Linked DNA regions of Homo sapiens: region 2 is linked to region 1. Evidence: promoter capture Hi-C in human tissues and cell types (Jung and others, 2019). All regions are on one chromosome and are shown on one strand. Each heading gives the region's core, a stretch centred on a gene start or on the middle of the fragment in contact. The rest is flanking DNA. Distances are from core to core; before and after follow the strand shown. Region 1 holds the start of EML5 (EMAP like 5). Region 2 has its middle 61 kb from the start of TRA-AGC15-1.

Region 1 (6,301 bases), core at 250-2,749:
AGCAGCTGCCAGAAAGCTATTCCTCTTTTTCAGATTCTGCCCAGAATGGAAACTCTTTCAGAGTTTACTTTTCATGACATCTATGTAAATTCCTTTCAGATGGCCTTTATTTCCTGCATGTAAACTGCTTGCAGATTAGAAGTCATAATCAAAGACGAAACGGTAATCCTGTCTCAAGTTAGTAACTGGCATCTTTGAGGAAGTAGACATTGGATAACATCTATTCCAATATATCTGTACCACACAGGAGTCAACCCCTTTTGGAGTCATATTTCTTGAAACGATGGTAGTTTATTTTAGCTTTTGTCAGATTTCTGTCTTGGTATTTCCTATGGAAATCAAACAGTAATTTTTAGACAATAAGGGTTCATATTGGTATATCCTGAATTAGTATTTTTTTGTTGTAAATCTTGTGGCCATCCTGAACTTAACACTTTTTAAATTGTGGATTTCCAATTATTTTTAGAGGTATTGATAAATCTTGTTCATATTCCTGTGAGAAGAGGACACAACTGAGTAGGAGGGGAAATGACATAGTCAGGAATTGATTGTTCCCAATACTTTTATTACAGGAGTTTTCTACAGGATCACAATTGAATTTATTTAATTAAGAGTAACTGTTGGTGATGTCCCAGTCATTTTTAAAAAAATCGAAGTACAATTTTTTTTTTTTTTGCTATTCGGAAATCAGATCTCACATGTCAGTTTACCATCTAAAGTCTACCTTCAGCTTTGCGGTCACTTAAGAAAACATACACTTAGGACCAGGAGCAGTGGATTGGGCCTGTAATCCCAGCGCTTTGGGAGGCCTGAGGCAGAAGAACTGCTGAAGGTCAGGAGGTGGAGACCAGCCTGGGCAACACAGCAAGACCCCCGCCTCTACAAAATAAACTTAAAAACAAAGCAAAACATTTGCCGGGCATAGTGGTACGCAACTGTACTCCTTACTACTCCGGAGACTGAGGCGGGAGGATCGCTGGAGCCCAGGAGTTGGAGGCTACAGTGAGCTGAGACTGCGCCACTCCACTCCAGCCTGGGCGACAGAGCGAGGCTCTGTTTCTAAAAATAATAATTTAAAAGCACATTTAGGAAGCTCGGCATCATTCCAATGTCTGGGTCCGAAAGCACTATAAGGCAGCAAGACACACAAGGTATCAAGCGTAAAAAAGAGAATTTAGCATCCCGGTGTGGATTTTCCCAGGCAAAAACGTGGCCTACGCTGGGTGCAGGGACCGTGCGGAACCGGCAGGTGCTTCCCGGTTGAGGACGCAAAGCAGCGGGAGCCCGGGGTCGCCGAGGGTCCGCCTGGGCTTAAGCAGCTCAACGAGGGAGGGCTCACCGGCCCGCGCACTTGCAGAGACGCGGTCCCAGCGACTCCGCAACTAGACCGTGGCCCCGCGAACTCCAGCCTCTTCTCGGCTCCGGGAGGGGCGGAGTGAGCGCGGGAGGGGGCGGGGCCACGCAAGGCCGCGCGCCCGCCGCTCGGCTCGGCTCGGCTCGGCTCGCTCGGTTTCGGGGTGCGCGGCGCGGGTCCGCCAGGCTGTGGCTACAAAGCCGCGGCGGGGCGCGAGCGCCGCAGGTGACCGGGGCTGGGAGCTGCGTGCGCGGGCGGCGGCTGAGGAGCTGGAGGCGGGCCCTCGCTCTCGGCCCAGGCGCTACGGGCTGAGGAGACTAGGCGAGCCGAGGCGGGCGAAGGGCTCTGGGCATCCACTTGACAGCCGGCGGCGCTCGCGGCCCTCAGCATGTTCCGCGAGGCGAGGGTTTTCCTCCCGCCTGTGGGCTGAGGCGGCGGCGGCCCCCGAAACGAGATGCACCTGACGGGCGCGGCTTAGAGGACGCGGCTGGCGGGAAGTCCCGGCAGCCAGCGGGAGGGCTTTCGTTGCCGGGCCGCCGCCGCCTCCCGTCGCCGCCGCGGGCCCGAGCGGGAGCGGCGGGTGGGCGCCCCGACATGGCGGCCCGGAGCGCCCCGAGCTGCCACCTGCGGCTCGAGTGGGTGTACGGCTACCGGGGCCACCAGTGCCGCAACAACCTCTACTACACTGCGGCCAAGGAGATCGTATACTTCGTGGCGGGGGTCGGCGTGGTGTACAGCCCGCGGGAGCACAGGCAGAAGTTCTACCGGGGCCACAGCGACGACATCATCAGGTACCGGGGAGCGGGGGCCGCCGCCGTCACCCTGCAAGCCGCTCCCGGAGTTTGCACCCGCGGGTTCCTCTGGACGCCGTGACCGCTCCTGCACGGAGCATCACCCCGAGGGGAATCCGCAGCTGTCTCTCTGGTCCCGAGTCCACCAGTTAACACCCTACAAATGCCTTTCCCCTCTTCCTCGTCTAGGGACTCTCTCTCGGGTCCGTGCAGGAAGATCAGGTCCGCGGATCCACCGGGCACCCGGTTTGACGGCTTTGTCCCCTTTCCCACTCCATCACAATTACGAAAACTGCGAAAAGGTTATTTTGGTGGCACTTTATTCCGTTAGATCCTGTGAGAAATTTCTTATTAAACGCATTCTTAAAGCACCCGGGGTGGGGGGAAACCCTTTACCTAATAAAGGACTGATGGAAGCACAGCAAGCGGTGGGCTGCTCCCGGGGAGCGCGCCCAGGGTGGCGTCCTGAAGGGCTCTCACCTCCTGGCCGTAATTATTAGTTCAGGTTTCACCGCCTGCTATAATCAGCAGAAACCCCAGGCAACCTCCAGGCAATTCACTGGATGTTAAAATGTGCACACCTGAAGGCAATTTAAGGTAGGTCTTATCTGAAGAGGCTGCTGAAAACTTCACTGATTTCCAGTTCTCTTCATCTTCATTAAAATACTCCTAAATAAGCTACTTTTGTATTTTCTTAAAATTAAATCGCTATTGGGGGGCTATTTTTAGTCTTCCTTGGACAATAACTCAAAGTTGGTCCCAGAGCTTGTTGACATTTCTTTAGTGAGCGGTATATTTGAAATGTAATTTTCAATCAGTGTCTTAGTACAACTTTTATGGTAAAGTCAAGAGCTTCAGAAATCATTCTAGGCCACTGATTATTGCCTCAAGCACAGCATTTTTTGTCCTTTACAGAGGAAAATATATTAAAAGCAATTGAGAATGTGTTTGTGTGGTGCTCTTGGGGTTTTATCAAAGATTCTACGATTTGGGTTTGGTTACAAAATGTTATTCCCTCATGTATGTTGCACAGGATTTAAATTGGGCATTTCAAATACGGTACCTTGGTTTGAAGTCTTGTAGGCAAGAAGCCCTGGTATGTAAATTCCACAAATAAAGTTGTTCTTCTGTTTTGCGTCTCTGTACATCTATAATATGTAAGAGGGAAAGGATGCCTAGGACAAACAGAGGTAGGGCAAGATGGAGTAAAGATAAGAAAAGACAAAATTGAGATTGCAGAGTAAGGAATGAGGTGGTGCTCTGTATTCAGTTGGTTTTTTTTGTTTGTTTTTGTTTTTTGGACACCAGAGTGCTTTTTCAGATTGTATTTAATGTATTACTTTGAAAAGGTAACTGATAAGTCATTTCATTTTTCTCAAGCTGGGACTCTGTATCGTGGTGATTAGGGTTACAGACCTATTATAATAGCCCAAATTGCTGATGGAAAAACAAAACTAAAGTAAACCCGTAGTAATTATTTATCTTCTTAGTTATCCCAAGAGTAGAGTTTACCCCAGTGTCTTGTCTTTTTCCCTAATCCTTTCAAGTCTCCCTTCTTTTCCATATGCTAGGTCTCCCAAAGTACCAGGCATAGTAGCTTTACCTAGCTGGAGCAGCCTTAACTGAAGCCCTGCTCCAGATAATTTAGTCTGTTAGGTTGAATTCAGCTGGTGGAGTAAATGTGAAGGATTTTGAGGTCTTCTCGTGGTACACTTGTATTGTTTTTACTCCTTGGGGGTTATGAGAGCAGTATAGCACTAAGGTCTTCTGAAACTAGATATGATTTATTTGGTGAGGTAAATTACATCTTGTTCTTCTAGCAGTAATTAGAAGCTGTGTTATATGTCACACCGCTTAAATTTCATAATTGTGTTTCAGTAAACTGTAAGGAAGGTAATGCTTTGACTTTCTTTTGGTATAGTTGCACAACTTATACAAAACAACAAACATACTCGAATTTCTCATCGTTGAATATACATGCTTATGATTTTATCCAAATGACACATCTTTAATGTATAACAATGAAAATAAGTTTCCTGAAAAGTTTCAATGAGGGAGTAAAATCTGAATCATACAGCATCTTGAAATTGGTGGCACAAATTTAATATGATACTGAGAATATAATTTAGGAATCAGTGAAAGGGCTCTGGACATTTTATTTCAAATAGTAATGACAGATCATTCATGTTTGTGAAATATATTGAGCTAATATTAAAACCTCAATATTTTTTCAGTTCAGTGTTTGACTTGTGAGTATAGAAACAACTCTAGTAATTTTTAAATTATGCCACAGCAGAAGATGTAATATTCACAAATGTGATGCATAGTGAAAACCAATGTTGCTGTAACCTTAGCTTTAGTAATAAAAAGTCAGTGCTGTTTTCATCATCTGTTTTGTTTCCACCTTTGCCTGAAACTTATGTAAAACTTATTGGTCAAATATTACTTAGTCTGAGGATAGAACTGTTCCAGAATGAGCAGATCATTGTCCTCAGGTTTTGAAAATGTGAGTGCAATGTTGGTGGTAAAGGCTGAATCATGACTAGTCTATCATTTGCTTACTGGTTCTTTGACCATTTTATTATCACCTGGGATTGCCAGTGGTGGTGCCACATGACATTTCATCATTTTCTCAGTAAAGGCTGAATCATGACTAGTCTATCATTTGCTTACTGGTTCTTTGACCATTTTATTATCACCTGGGATTGCCAGTGGTGGTGCCACATGACATTTCATCATTTTCTCAGTAAAGGCTGAATCATGACTAGTCTATCATTTGCTTACTGGTTCTTTGACCATTTTATTATCACCTGGGATTGCCAGTGGTGGTGCCACATGACATTTCATCATTTTCTCAGTGTTGCTTGTAGTTCTCCATCTTCTTTTTGCCATCTACTTGTGTATACTTCTCTAGTCATTTATCTTTTAGTTATATTTATCTTAGTAACTGGTTTATATGGCAATTAGTTTCAATGTCAGAAATAATATAGGGCTTTTGGGGTCACTTTTTTGTTCTTTTTCTCAAGTTATATTGATAAAATTCTCCAGTTATTCTATCAATATAAAATCTATAAATCTATAAAATCTGTATCTATAAAAATCTCTAGTCTAGATTTAAGACTAAGTTATAAAATAAGCTACTACCAGTTTTAGCATAAGATGCACATCTATACCTTGGTCTATATTTTGAAACTTTTGCCAGTTGTTACAAGAATGCGATAGCTTTTTTTTTTTTTTAAACTGAGACAGGCCCTTGCTCTGCGTCACACAGGCTATAGTGCAATGGTGCAATCACTGCTCACTGTATCTTTGAAATCTTGGGCTCAGGTGATCATCCCACCTCAGCCTCCCCAAGTGGCTGAGACCACAGATGTGGGCCATGATGCTGGGCTATTTTTTTTTTTTTTTCGGTAAAGATGGGGTCTCTGTATGTTGCCCAGGCTGGTGTGCTGGACTCCTGGGCTCAAGTGATCCTCCCACTTCCGCCTCCCAAAGTGTTGGGATTACAGATGTGAGCCACCGTGTGCAGCCAGAGTGCAATATCTTTTCAAATTTATTATTCTAGGTACTTCCCGTAAGCAAATTTTTGCAAGATTGTTCTTAAGGATATTATTGAGAGTTTACAAATAATCTATACCAGTGAAGACCATTGATGGAATATAATTAACTTGGGGCATTTTGTTATTTGACTCTGCTTTCCTTATGGGAGTCAGAGCCCATTGTTTATGTATTAAGTAGGTATAGAATTTAGAGTACTTTTTTTTTTTTTTAACATAGTGAAAGGGTCTCACCAGTTGGTGATGAGCTCAAATGACGATGCATCTGAAATATTTTGAAAAGTATACCACACTATATGGTTGCAGGTTAAAATAATAACTGTTCATTGCTTCTATGTATGGCTTTTTTAAAAGACAAAATGAAGGGTGTAGAAGCTATTTTCTTTATTTGTGGTAAATCGTGTTCTTAAGAAAAAATACTGACCAAGTCTTATTGTAGTTTAGTAAAAGTGGTTTTTGACAGCTCAGTATTTATGGTATAGAAACTTAATTTATTCAACGCAAGTCAAAATTGTAATTGGAAAAGCGATTCAGAATAACATTTGCACGGTAGATAGATTTTTTTTGTGTTTATATGGGTTCAGAGTAGCAACTTTTTA
Region 2 (6,647 bases), core at 2,287-4,786, 120 kb before region 1:
GCTGGAGGAGCAGCTCCTATCTGGAATCTGCTGTAACCATGGCAGAGGACAAGAATTCAAGAAGGGCAATATTAAATAATGAGAGTACATTTAAAGCAAGATCAGATCTGGCATGCTTCATTTTCCTTTGGCCAAAGAAAGTCACAGGACCAAGCCCAAAGTCTTTGGGGAAGTGTGTTCTGCCTTCAGGGAAGCATAACAGGGTAAGGAGGCAATAAATTATTGGGAACAAATAACATGATCTACCATACACTCCAAACTCATGGTGGTGACCGCCAGGGGAGGAGCTGGAAGGGGAATGGAAAGAGGAGTCAGTGAATGAAGAGGATGTTATCTAGAACTGTAATATAATTTTATAAAAGACTTGATACAATATGACAATTCTGATAATGAAATACAGATATTTGTCTAATTATGCTTGGTATTTTGCTTTCTGTTTTCACAGAAATTATGAATTGATGAGGGGGGAGATTAAAAATGGAGTTGGAAGGGAGTAGTTAAGAGGCAATTGCAGAATTCCAGGTAAAATGATAAAGACCTGAATTATTACCCTAGCAGGAGAAATGATGTAATGGAGTTATTGAAAAACTAGAATTGACCAGATTTTCAACATCATTAGCAATTTTCATGTGTTTATTTAACACTTGTATATCCTCTTCTCTGAAATGACTCTTCATGTATTTTTGCCCACTATGTACTTGGATTGTTTATTTTTTTAACTATTAGAGTTTGATAACTCTTCATATATTTTAGATACTAGTCCTTTGCTGTACGTGTAGTTTGCAAATATTTTTCCACTCAGTAGGTTTATTTCATCATCTTAACTGTGTGTTTCAGTGACCTAAAGTTTTTCAAATATTGATTAAAGTTTTCACATAAATTTTTTTTATTTCAACCATTTTACGTGGACCATTCCATGGCATTAATTATGTTTACAATGTCATTAAACCATAACCACAATATGCAATTTCTTTCATCATTCCAAATACAAACTCTGCATCTATTAAGCAATAACCCACATTTCCACCACCACCCCAGTACCTGCTCCCTTCAATCTATTGTCTGTCTCAATTCATTTTTCCTATTCTAAATATTCTGTAGAAGTAGAATCATACATATTTGTCCTGTTAATTTCTGTCATAATTCACTTGCAATGTGTTTAAGGTTTGTCAATGTTGCAACTTGTATCAAACTTTCATTCCTTTTTATGGTGGAATAAAGTTTTATTGTTTGTATACCCTTAAAAAACAAGACCAGATTTGATGATCAATTCAATGTGAAGGGTGAGAGAGAGGAATGAGTCAAGAATGCAAGCATGCCTTCAGAGATGAACCAAGAGTGACTGCAATGGCAGGAATGCCAGCTCAGGTGCCCGGGTGGAAGAGTAACTGCTCTCCCTGCCGGAGAACAGAGGTCACAGGGTAGCTGGGCCAGGAGGAGGTGAGGCCTGTTATTTCACGGCTTTGTTGATAACTCTGAATCTATTATTTTGCTTTTCCTTCTGTCTTTGTTTACCTATTTGTTCCTTTGCTTGTTCTTTCTCACTGCTGGTTTGCAAACCAGGAGTACATACACCTAACTTGAACTGATATCATTATTTTTGGTAACAAGTCCTTTCACTTGAGAGTTTTAATTCTACAAGGGTAGGGCCAATGAAATAGTGTAGGCTGGCTAGGAACAGGTTGCTCTGGGGAAGAAAGTGTCCCCAGTGAAAACTTGGTGACTGAACAGCACATACTCATTGCAGACTTCTTAACGTTGCTTGAGGGATTCATTTGCCATAATTAAATACATGTATTAATTTATTCAATATGAATCTGGAGCTTGCTATAAACAGATGTCTCCACGGAAGGGTGCTGGAGAGCAAACCAGGTCTTATAATTTGTAGTCTGAGTCCTTGTGACCTTTTTTTGATTTGGGGTTCATGTTGAAAGCCACCGTTCATTTCTCTGTCATTGTATCTCATCTTCAGTCATTATAGAGGGAACCACATCCTCACCCCTGGGACTTCTCGAAGGGAATTGTTCATTAAGCCAGTCAAATTTAATCTCCATATTGTTAAAAATCTCCCCAACCCTTTTATATGATGCAATAACAAACAAATGAAAAGCAGCTAGAACTTGTATGCATATAAGTAGATCCCGAACAACAAAAGGACCAGTTTTTCTGGCTAAAAGCAAGCCTGCCATTACATTGAGGCCATGCCTTCATTCCTACTCACTCAATTATACTTGAGGAAGAGATGGGAAGCTAATTCTCTACCTGCCCCACAAAACTATTCCATTTCACAACCCATCTACACTATCACTTACATCGATAGCTCATGTTGCTGGCAGTAAAGTGCTGTGATCTTATTCCATTTTAAAACAGTCCTGGAATAAATGGTGCTGAAATTGCTCAGATCTAGCCTGCTATCTTCTACCCCAGCATACAGAGAGAGAACAGAACAGATGAAATGCTGGGCTTGCCGACCCCGTCTCTCCTTTCCACTTTGTGGTCTTAAGAAAATCACATAATCAGAAGTTCAATTACCTTATCTATAAAATAGGAAGAAAAGGCCGGGTGCAGTGGCTCACGCCTGTAATCTCAGCATTTTGGGAGGCCAAGGCGGGTGGATCACTTGAGGTCAGGAGTACGAGATCAGCCTGGCCAAAATGGCGAAACCCCATCTCTACTAAAAATACAAAAAAAAAAAAAAAAAAAATTAGCTGGGCGTGGTGGCAAGTGCCTGTAATCCCAGCTAATCAGAAGGCTGAGGCAGGAGAACCTCTTGAACCCAGGAGGTGGAGGTTGCAGCGAGCCGAGATCACACCATTGCACTCCAGCCTGGGCAACAAGAGCAAAACTCTGTTTCAAAATAAATAAATAAAAATAAAATAAATAAAACGGGAAGAATGATATCCTCAATGTAGATTTTTTAATGAGGATCACACAAAATAAAGTAGGTGAAAGTGCCGACGTTTGTTAGAGCAGAGCATTTCAGACTTTGACGTGTGTATGACCGTGTGGGAATGGGATACAGGTTCTGGCTTTGTAGCTCAGTGGTGGAGCCTGAAATTCTGAGTTTCTAACAAGCTCCCAGATGATGCCAATGCTGCTAGGCCATAGACCATAACTGGAGTAGCAAAGTGATTACTGTGTTGTCCAGTGTGGTAGATGCTGGCCACAGGTGTTCATTTAAGTTTAAATTAATTAAAATGAAATAAAATTTAAAATCCAGTTTGTTAATTGCAGTAGCCAAATGTTTAGATGTCCACAGCCACCTGTGACTAGTGGCTACCACTACATTGGACAACACAGACATAGAACATTTCCACCACTGCAGAAAGTTCCACTGGACTGTGCTGTGTTAAGCACCATGGTGATGTTTAAAAAGCTATTCGATAACATTCAAACAGTGTTTACTGATCGTCTTTGTATTTGTCAGGGTTCTCTAGAGGCACAGAACTAATAGGATAGATGTATATATGAAGGGGAGTTTATTAGGAGAATTGGCTCACATGATCACAAGGTGAAGTCCCACAATAGGCCATCTGCAAGCTGAGAAGCCAGGAAGCCAGTCCGAGTCCCAAAACCTCAAAAGTAGGGAAGCAGACTGTGCAGCCTTCAGTCTGTGGCCTAAGACCCAAGAGGCCCTGGCAAACCACTGGTATAAGTCTAAGAGTTCAAAGCTGAAGAACCTGGAGTCTGATGTTCAAGGGCAGGAAACATCCATCACGGGAGAAAGACGGAGGCCAGAAGACTAAACTAGTCTAGTCTTTCCCTGATTCCTGCCTGCTTTTATTATGGCCGCACTGGCAGCTGATTAAATTATGCCCACCAGGATTGAGGGTCAGTCTGCCCTTCCCAGTTCACTGACTCAAATGTTAATCTCCTTTGGCAACACCCTCACAGACACATCCAGGAACAGTACTTTGTATTCTTCAATGAAGTTGACACTCAAGATTAGCTATCACAATCTTCCACGTATATTTCTAGACACTAATGAGATAGCAGTGAGCAAAACAAAGTCCTTGCCCTTGTGGAGCTTACCTTCTGATTTGAATAAATAAGAGATTGTAACTAAATGGTCTTGGATACAGCAGCTCTCTCATAAGCAGACTCAGCTTTATCCTACAACAGCCTCACAGCAGAATTCATCACTTCCTCACAGCCCCTGAAGCAAAAGCCACTCAAATAACCATAAGTGAAGAATTAGTCTGAAGATTTTACTGAAGATTTCTTAAAGGATGCTACAGGGAAGTCTACATTGCATAGCCCAGAATACTGTTTAATATTGTTTTTCTTTTTCCTTTTAAAATTACACAATTAATACATGTCAAATAGGATTTTTACCTGCTTTCCACTCCCAACCCCCAAAACGCCCTGTCTGATACTTCTTCCTAAGTCTCTCTGTTTTGGGTCACCGAAGAGATCTTCCCAATATTCTCATTTTGCAGAGAAATTAATCTCTGCCCAGTTCCTCAAGCCTTGCATGCCTGTTACTTCTATACCTTTTACTTCTTTGAGTTCTACCGCAGCTTTCATTCGAGATGAAGTACACCTGCCCTCACGTTGTTGACCATGAAACATTGGTGGTAATCACCAGCTCACAAAAGCCAGTGGTGCTTTTATCTTCCCAACTTTGTGTTCAGTGACCTCATATTAGAAAGCTTGAAATTCATCTGAGTGGTAGTATTTACACCATAGAAATTGGCATATGCTACAAACTAGGTCTTTTTTTTTCCCCAGAGAACCAACTGTTAAACGTGTGGTAGCACACCACTGGGTGTAGAGAACATGTAGAGATGACATGGTGCCCAGTGTCATTTAGAGCTTATTGAGAGGACTCTGTTTCATTTTGTAGCCCCAGATGCTTCTTCCTCTTTGTTTTCTACTGTGGGGTCTGAAAGCTGTCTCACTCCTCTGAGGGGGACCCTCCCTTGCAAGACAGAGGAGAAGCAGCCACTCTGGCAAGTCAAAGAACATCATCCCATGGCTTAAAACAGAGTGGTCCTCTGGGCCGGGAGAGACGTCAGGGAGAAAATAAGAATGAACCACATCCCTCCACTCCATTCATTGATAGGAAACCTACAGACAGCACCTGATACTCACCTGCCTTCAGGTGTGCTTTCTTTGGTTTATCGTGAAACCAGCCAAATTCATTTTTCTCTGTAACTGTTAAATTGAAAATCAGTGACATAAAGAGGTGATAAGGGAAAACTGGGTTTGACTTCCGGTATCTCACAACTGCCCTTAGTGGACTGCAACCACCGTGGTAACACTCTAGAAGTATGGAACAAAAACTAGTTTACAGTCACCTCTGCTCAGAGCGGGGGTGGGGGAGATGGAGGAGTTAAATGCAAGGATGTGAAAATCATTTGGGGGATTTGCAAGAAGCTCTGGCTAAGGCAGCCCCCCTGGGCAAGCTTCTCTTCAGCTCCTATTTTCTGTTGGCTGTGGCTTGAGCCAGCTCTACACTATAGCTGTGGGCACTGCCTCATAAGAGACTCTTGCCTCCCTCCTATCATTTTTGCACTTCTCTTTTCTGTTTCTTCTCAAGTCTGACTTGACATTCAGTGAAGCCTCTTTTGCTTTGGATGAAAATCCTAGAAGTGGTGAGGGAGGTGGGGTAGGAGAGGCTCCCACTATGATTTAGCCTGGGTTTCAACAGGGCCCCAGGCTCACCCCACTCACGGCAACACTGGATGTTAGGTTCTGCCCTAACCCTTCCACCCCTGCACCCTAAGGCTTTAGTGGAGAGGCCACAATGAGAGAGGCTGCTGCCACCAGCGGAGAAGATAGGAAAAGAAGGAAAAGAAGCATTTGTGTGAGGAAAGCCTCCGTGGATGGTACACCTGTCCCCTTGGCCCTTGACTCATTCTTCTGTTCCTTAATGCCATCTGGATCAGCTGTGGGCTCTCTTGCCTAATTATAGTTCATAAGGGCCAATTTTGTAATGACTTGGCACCTAAATTGAGCCTGCACCTTTTTCACACTGCAGTTTGGGCTTTAATAGCTTGATTAAGTAGGACAGCCAACTCGGGTAAATCACCTTGCTTGTAAAGAGGTGTTTAGGGCTATATGAGGGAAAAAATGCCTTTACAAGGTGGACGGCTTAAAGGTAGATCCAAATGCAGCATCTTGACTAGAAATTTCAAGCCAGATAGGCTGGGTTTAAAAATATGGGGCAGGGGTCCAAGCTGCAGCCCATGTTTTGTGGTATCTCCTCCCTTCTCCTCACTCTCAGCTGATGGCCTTATTTCACTGGAACAATAGGAGCAATTAGAAGAATGTCACCTGCCCCCAAGGAGACATCTTTCCGGGTAGCAGTGCCTATATCTTTATACTCTTGTCTTTCATCCTGTTGCTATGGGCAGAGCTGTCTACACTTCTATTTAAAACCAAACCCAACACTGGAAGCCTTCCCCTCTTACCTTCTGCGATAACCCTCTCTTGCTTGCATCGCCAAGTTTCTCCCCTGCAAGACAGTTCTCTGAGTGACCTTGAACCAACCCAATTTTCCCTCCCCCTTTTTTGCATGTAGTCTCAAGAATAAGAGTAGAATGTGCTGGAATGCAATATCCTGAGAAAAAGCTCAGGCTTTATTCCTCTCTCCCCCAGAAGGAAGATGTCCTTCAAAGCTTTGCCCAGGGAGTCCTGTTTCT

Evidence for each region. The method cuts DNA at HindIII sites, captures the fragments that hold promoters and counts their contacts. A contact is called where the count stands out against the background at its distance.
Region 2: a contact is called between a fragment that was not itself captured here and the fragment with the promoter of EML5 in region 1, in 2 of the 25 tissues and cell types used here (aorta and heart left ventricle).

Annotation. Positions count from the first base shown.
Region 1 is chr14:88,788,151-88,794,451 of GRCh38, reverse strand. It overlaps EML5 (EMAP like 5), which reads left to right and starts at 1,499. Exons shown (of 44, transcript NM_183387.3): 1 at 1,499-2,145. The coding sequence starts at 1,949. RefSeq lists silencers at 1,359-1,718, 1,909-1,988. The HindIII fragment of the contact is 27,448 bases long and covers 1-6,301 here.
Region 2 is chr14:88,914,415-88,921,061 of GRCh38, reverse strand. No RefSeq gene overlaps it. Among named protein-coding and RNA genes, the nearest start is that of TRA-AGC15-1, 61 kb to the left of the region's middle. The HindIII fragment of the contact is 4,961 bases long and covers 1,056-6,016 here.